2 separate regions of the Homo sapiens genome follow, and region 1 is linked to region 2. Evidence: promoter capture Hi-C in human tissues and cell types (Jung and others, 2019). All regions are on one chromosome and are shown on one strand. Each heading gives the region's core, a stretch centred on a gene start or on the middle of the fragment in contact. The rest is flanking DNA. Distances are from core to core; before and after follow the strand shown.

Evidence for each region. Contacts are between HindIII fragments. The study calls those that stand out against the background at their distance.
Region 1: a contact is called between a fragment that was not itself captured here and the fragment with the promoter of PSMC3 in region 2, in 1 of the 25 tissues and cell types used here (spleen).

What each region holds. Positions count from the first base shown.
Region 1 is chr11:47,778,452-47,782,111 of GRCh38, forward strand. NUP160 (nucleoporin 160) reads right to left here. Exons shown (of 36, transcript NM_015231.3): 35 at 1,892-1,996; 36 at 1-743. The coding sequence ends at 654. Among named protein-coding and RNA genes, the nearest start is that of FNBP4, 13 kb to the left of the region's middle. The HindIII fragment of the contact is 4,077 bases long and covers 1-3,637 here.
Region 2 is chr11:47,424,935-47,428,588 of GRCh38, forward strand. It overlaps PSMC3 (proteasome 26S subunit, ATPase 3), which reads right to left and starts at 1,505. Exons shown (of 12, transcript NM_002804.5): 1 at 1,271-1,505; 2 at 933-1,016; 3 at 187-312. The coding sequence starts at 1,345. RefSeq lists silencers at 1,132-1,343, 1,614-1,743 and an enhancer at 1,314-1,513. The HindIII fragment of the contact is 16,812 bases long and covers 1-3,654 here.

The DNA.
Region 1 (3,660 bases), core at 349-2,848, 350 kb after region 2:
GATGATGGATTTCCAATTTTTTCTTAGCTAAGAATTTACTCAACTTTAGCTCAGAACCAGATTCAAAATATCTTCTTTAATTAGCTGGTCATCATTTTAGGCTTAATCTAGGCAAATTATTTAATACTCAATTGAAGATCATATAAAACCTCCAAAATAAATAAAAAGTACACAAAATTATTAGCTTTTGTGTACAATACAGAAAATACAGGTCAGTTCTGGACCAAAATAATTGCATTAAAATACAAAAGGTGATAGGGAAGAATTAAAAGATTTGCAGTGACTGCTTTTGGTGGTCAGCTACAACAAGCCAACAACCCTCAGCTATTTTGGAAAGTGAAGGTGAGTCTTAATTTGCAGATAATGAATGTCTTCGGTAGTTTAAAAAAATATAAACTCTAAAAAAGCTCGTGAATCATATACAAAAGCAGCTATTTGAGACCAAGGTTGAACACCAGAAATTGTGTTAGCACCACCAGCAAGCACAGGGTCCTCTGACTCTTCCGCCCTCCTATCTTGTGCAGAATGCAGACTTGAATGTTGTACACATCATTTACAGTTACAAAAATCGGCCTTGAGTACAGGGTTCCTGTAGGGTAGTCTTAAGTCCTAAGAGGCACCAAGCGGTTACAAAGGCTAGGTGACAATCCAAATCACAAGGTCCGACGATATAATAAATCCCGTGTTGCCTTATCAACTTTTTGCTGGTAGTCCTCCAATTTGTCAAGTATTTTCTGGGACAGCTATAAGAGAAAAGAAGGAAAACATTACATAACAGCTCAACAATGGAAAAATATTGAAGTTATTAATAACTTTGACTTCACCAAGTAGATTCCACCTTATAAAGATGTTAGCCACTCTGCTTCATAAAATCACCATTTGTTATAGGAGTCTCCTCTGTGACTCTACTGATAAAACTAGGCCTCTCTGTTATATACAACATTTCAGTCTCATTTTCTGAATGAATTTTCTAAGTATGGAAATCGTACCAGTATTTCTAATAAAAGGATCACTAACTCTTTTCTCAGAACCAGAAATGCTGCATCTGATATAACTAGTTATTAGCTGCCAAGTGAAATATAGAACTAATATTTTAGATAGGCTCAGGAGGCACTCTATCTCACTGGTAAACAAAATAAGCCATCACTATAATGACTCAAGGAAACACTATTGTTTTTTATGTTAAGGCAAGCAGGGTGAATATATGACTCCTGAGAAATGTTGTTATATATGCCAACTTCCCTCAGGACAGTGATAATTTATCACACTGTATTTCTTTCTTTTTCAGGGTGGGGGAATGGAGTCTCACTCTGCTGTCTAGGATGGAGTGCGGTGGTGCAATCTTGGCTCACTGGAACCTCCGCCTCCTGGGTTCAAGCGATTCTCCTGCCTCAGCCTCCCGAGTAGCTGGGATTACAGGTGCCCGCCACCATGCCTGGCTAGTTTTGGTATATTTAGTAGAGATGGAATTTCACCATGTTGGCAAAGCTGATCTCGAACTCCTGACCTCTCAGGTAATCTGCCCGTCTCAGCCTTCCAAAGTGCTGGGATTATAGGCGTGAGCCACTGCGCCCGGCCTATCATTGCTGTATTTCAAGTACCTGTTTACCTTGTAGGGTCTGCCCTACCAAATTAAAAGCTTTAAAGGATGGACCGACTGCTTGCCATTTGTCTCTGTATAATTAACACTTACACAGTTCCTCATTATGTTTTCTTGATCCTGTTACTTAGATCCTCTGCCTTATCTATAAAGGGACTGGGCAGTTTGTTAAGGGCCAAAAATAGGCTTTTGTCTTCCCTTTCTAATCCCGGAGAACTGAAGATCAAGCTGTAAGGTGTAACTGCTAGTGCAGGGGCTTACACAAGACGTCTCATGAAAGGGCTGACTTACTGCGATGTTGTGACTGTTGGCACTGTTCTCTCCCAGAGCTTGGAGAAGCTGATCAATAGAGGAGTATGGAAGCCACACCATTGGGGCTGTTGCGGACAGTGGAAACTAAAAGGAAAATGTTTATTTGAAAACAGTCTGCAAAGTGTACCATTTCTTCTGGGTAGTTGCTTTCATAGGACTCTGTAGAATAAAATACCCTTTTTTTTTTTTTTTTTGAGATGGTCTTGTTCTGTCGCCCAGGCTGAGTGCAGTGGCACAATCTCAGCTCACTGCAACCTCCGCCTCCTGGGCTCAAGCAATTCTTGTGCCTCAGCCTCTTGAGTAGCTGGACTACAGATGTGCACCACCATGCCTAGCTAATTTTTTTATGTTTATTTTTAGTAGAGATGGGGTTTCACCATGTTGGACAGGCTGGTCTCAAACTCCTGGCCTCAAGTGATCCACCTGCCTTGGCCTCCGAAAGTGAGCCACTGTGCCCGGCAAAATAAAATGCATTTTTTCCCCCAACCACAAGAAACTGTGTGTATACATGTGCATGCACACAATGGGAACCCTCTTTTCTCCAACTGGGAAACTTGTCATTTTTTTCGGTTAAATATATTTAAAAATTCATGTCGGCTGGGCCTGTAATTCCAACGTTTTGGGAGGCCGAGGTGGGCGGATCACAAGGTCAGGAGTTCGAGACCAGCCTGGCCAATATGGTGAAACCCCGTCTCTACTAAAAATACAAAAATTAGCCAGGTGTGGTGGCACAGATGTAGTCCCAGCTGCTCGGGAGGCTGAGGCTGAAGAATTGCTTGAACCCGGGAGGCGGAGGTTACAGTGAGCCGAGATCATGCCACTGCACTCAAGCCTGGGCGACAGAGCGAGACTCCGTCTTGGAAAAAATAAAAAAATAAAAATAAAAAATAATTTCATGTCAACTTTCTTTTTTTTTTCAGACAGGGTCTCACTCTGTCACTCAGGCTGGAGTGTAGTGGCATGATCATAGCTCACTGTACCCTCAACCTCCAGGGCTCATGTGATCCTCCCACCTCAGCTTCCCACATAGCTGGGACTATAGGCACGCACCACCATGACCAGCTAATTTTTTTCTATTTTTTGTAGATAAAGGTTCTCACTATGTTGCCAAGGCTGGTCTTAACCTCTGGGTTTAAACGATCCTCACACCTTGACCTCCGAAAGTGCTAGGATTACAGGTGTGAGCTATTGCACCTGGCTGATTTCATGAGGGTTGAAGCTGTAGTTAACTACACCTATTTAGACCTGGCTCTTCTATTATATTTGCCATCTGTATGAGCCTGTGATAACCTCTGAGCCTGTTCCCTCATGGGTTAAAAAATAGAAAATTAAAACATTCCTTCATAAGGCTGCTATAAGGATTAAATAAAAAAATGCTTGTAGAGACTTAACACAGTCCCGGCACACACACAATACCATTTTGTTTATCTCTCTCCACTGAATCCTAACTAATGCCATATTATTTTGATAGAGAAAGATGAAATTCCTATTTTATAAACAGGAGACTAGAGATTCCTAGAGTGTCAATATTTAGTTGTATAACTACAGATAGTAAAGGTTAAATACACTAACATATAGTTCAATTTACTCTCAGATTCTCACCTTACATAGCATGATAATAAAAAGAAATGCCTAGGCCGGGCATGGTGGCTCACATGGGTAATCCCAGCACTTTGGGAGGCCGAGGTGGGTGGATCACTTGAGGTTAGGAGTTCCGAGACCAGCCTGGCCAACATGGTGAAGCCCCA
Region 2 (3,654 bases), core at 255-2,754:
AGGAGACACGTGAGACCTCCCAGGACTTTGCAGGCCCCGTCTTCCCCATGAAAGTGCCCCAGGAGGTGTAGCTCTGACATGCAGTTTGGCCTCAATACCTCCACCCACTCTTTCCCTAGTGGCCCCACCCCAGGCTGTCCCCATTCCCTGCTGACTCCCTCTCTTCCCCTCCACATACACACACACCTCGATGACGTTGGAGACAAGGTACGGCAGGGTCTTGTTCACTTTGATTTTCTCACTGTTCTCTTTTATCTTGTCCTTCATGGCTTGGAGCTCATGGGTGACTCTCAACACTTCACTCTTCATGATCTGAGATCAGGAGGGGAGGAGAAGCAAATATAAACCCTGGCACAGCTTATGCTAGAGCCCTGTAACTAGTGAGGTCCAGGGTGCCCAGGGGACCCTCCCGCATCCATTCATCCAGCTCTGAGGCTCTCTGAAGGCAGAGTCTGACTGTGTCCACATCCTGCAGAAGTCAAAAGAGGAGGCCAGTTTGGAAACCTCCTGGTGAAATAGTGGTAGTATTGGAATAAAAGCAGGCCTCCGAGAGAGGCAAACATAGGTTTTAGGTTCTGCCTCATAGTAAGAACTGGGTGCTTTATCGCAGTACAAACCTCTCTGGGCCTGTCTCCTCATCTGTAAAATAGGCATTTTACTAAAAGAAGGATTCTTGAGAGGATTATTCCCAGTTCTCACTGGGAAAGGCAATCTGATAACTTCTCATCTCAGCCCAGGCCTCCCACCACCCCCTACCTGTCTTCTTGTCCCTTTTAAGGCTTAGTTTTCTTTCCTCTCTTCCTGATATGAGGGGGAAGCCCGAGCCCCATGTCTCCCCCAGGGTGCCCGATTAGGAAGTACGAGAGGCGACTCGGATCGCCGGGGCCTGTCCTGTGGGGGCTCCATCGCCCGCACAGGAGCTGTGCGCCCACCTTGATCTCACTGTCCAGCAGCCGTGTGCGCTGGATGATCTCCTCCGTGGACATCTTGAGCACCTCCTCCCCAATTCCATCTTGCTGTAAAAAATTATTTGTTTATTTATATATTTACTTTTACTCAGGACAAGCATCCCTCGTTCTCCGAACCCACTCACAGCCTCAGTTTCCACGCCCATAAAACCAGGATGGAGTCAGGACCCCTGCCCACATCCCAAACAACCCCGTCCCCGGGATCGGGCCAGACCTTGACCCCCAGCCACCTCCTTCCCTCTTGTCAATGGCGTCTCCCTGCGGGCCCCGGTTCCCGGACCGCCAGCTCGCCCGGTGCCCACCTCGGCCTCATCCCACACGGTCGCCATCTTCTCCTGCCGAGTCACTGGACTCTCAATATTCGGCAGCAGATTCATTTCCTGGAGGAGCGGGCAGAAGATGGGACCAGGCGGGAGCCGCAACGGGAGATTAATACCGTCTTTCTTAAAGCCTTCTCTTGACCAGTGGAAAACCTCTCCCCACAAATCCCGACTCTTGACCCGACCAGCTCCGGCCGTGCTGCGGAGCAGCGAATCTGCCTCTCCGATTCCAAAGACCAACCCCTGGCCACAGGCCCCGCCCCCGCGGACCCCGAAACGTTCCCGCCCGCGTCCTATTTTTGCCGGGCGCGAGAGGTGGGGCCGCTATTGGCCGACACGCGCGTTGGGGGCGGGGCCTATGTGTAAAACCGGAAAGGGAGGGAGAAGGGTGGGATCCGCGAGGGCCTTTGGGAAATGTAGTCTTTAATCTGGCCCGTGACAGATGCTTGCGGAGGGGCGCGTTCAAACTCAGACCGTGACCCCGCTAGGAATAAGGGGATTTACACAATGACACTGCCTCCCAATTAATAAACGACATAGGCCAGCCGTGTGCAAAGGGCCAAAAAGGCATGCCACCTCAGTCCGCATTTTTACAATTATTTAAGTACAAGCTGGCCACCCGGAGTTACGGGAGGGAATCATTAACCAGCTTTAAAGAGAAATCGCTGCTGCTCCTAACGTCAGAGCAGGCTTCACGGAATTGTCCACGTGGGAAGAACTCAATTGACCATCAGCCTCTACGATTAAAAACATTATGACTCGGGCCGGGCGCGGTGGCTCACGCCTGTAATCCCAGCACTTTGGGAGGCCGAGGCGGGCGGATCACGAGGTCAGGAGATCGAGACCATCCTGGCTAACACGGTGAAACCCCGTCTCTACTAAATATACAAAAAATTAGCCGGGCGTGGTGGTGGGCGCCCGTAGTCCCAGCTACTCCGGGCTGAGCCAGGAGAATGGCATGAACCTCGGAGGCGGAGCTTGCAGTGAGCCGTGATCGCGCCACTGCACTCCAGCCTGGGCGACAGAGCGAGACTCCGTCTCAAAAAAAATTATGTCTCGTATCTGCAATTGTTTGTTTTCTCTGACCATGGTTAGTAATCTCAGTGAGCAGAGCGGGTCTCCGGATCATGGGAGACTCATTCGTTGTACCCTTGTCGGCTATTTTAAATGATCTCTCCTTATCCTTTGAGGTGAGCCCTGGAGCCCCTTTAAAGGGAACTTCATGTAAGCAACATAGCTTATATTTCAAGTCAAACCATCACAAACACTCTGTTAACCTGATGAAAATCTGTGCAATCGTTGCCTTTTTTTTGTTTGCTTGTTTGTTTTTTGTTTTTTGAGACGGAGTCTCGCTCTGTCGCCCAGGCTGGAATGCAGTGGCGCGGTCTCTCCCTACCGCAACCTCCGCCTCCCGGGTTCAATGGATTCTCCTGCCTCAGCCTCTCAAGTAGCTGGGATTACAGGCACCCACCACCACGCCCAACTAATTTTTGTATTTTTAGTAGAGACAAGGTTTCACCATGTTGACCAGGCTGGTCTCAAACTCCTGGGCGTAAGTGATCTTCCTGCCTCAGCCTCCTAAAGTGTTGGTACTATAGGCATGAACCACTACACCTAGCCTTTGCAGTAGTTTTTTTTGGAACACGGTTGAAAGCAGAATTTTTTTCTTTAAATAACAACATGTACAGCTGCTCACTCAGGCTGACAAAGCGTCTCCTCAAGTAACAGTGCTTTATTCCATTCTCTCAACAAGCCTGCCTTGTGGACAGACTGAATTACCATTCTCAAATTTAAATAAGCATAGGGAGGCTCAGAGAGGTTAAGTGCCTTGCTGGAGGTTATTCAGTGAGTCACTGGCAGCACTAGGACTGCTGACCCCAAATTCTCACTTTGAGTTGCCCGATAGGAGCCAAGAAGCCCAGAGGGGAAAGACTGTCCAATCTGTGCTGGTCCCACTATGCCTGGGTCAGTTGGGTCCCATTCTGGGGCCTACTTTTGGAGATCCTGACAAATACGAATATGTTTAGAAAGCCTCCAGCCTGGGCCTAGGAGGGATGCAGACATTCTCCCCTTAACCAACTTTTAGGTAGGCTCTTCTGAGCCATCTTTTTTTTTTTTTTTTTTTTTTTGAGACGGAGTTTCGCTCTGTCGCCCAGGCTGGAGTGCAGTGGCGGGATCTCGGCTCACTGCAAGCTCCGCCTCCCGGGTTCACGCCATTCTCCTGCCTCAGCCTCCCAAGTAGCTGGGACTACAGGCGCCCGCCACTACGCCCGGCTAATTTTTTGTATTTTTAGTAGAGACGGGGTTTCACCGTTTTAGCCGGGATGGCCTCGATCTCCTGACCTCGTGATCCGCCCGCCTCGGCC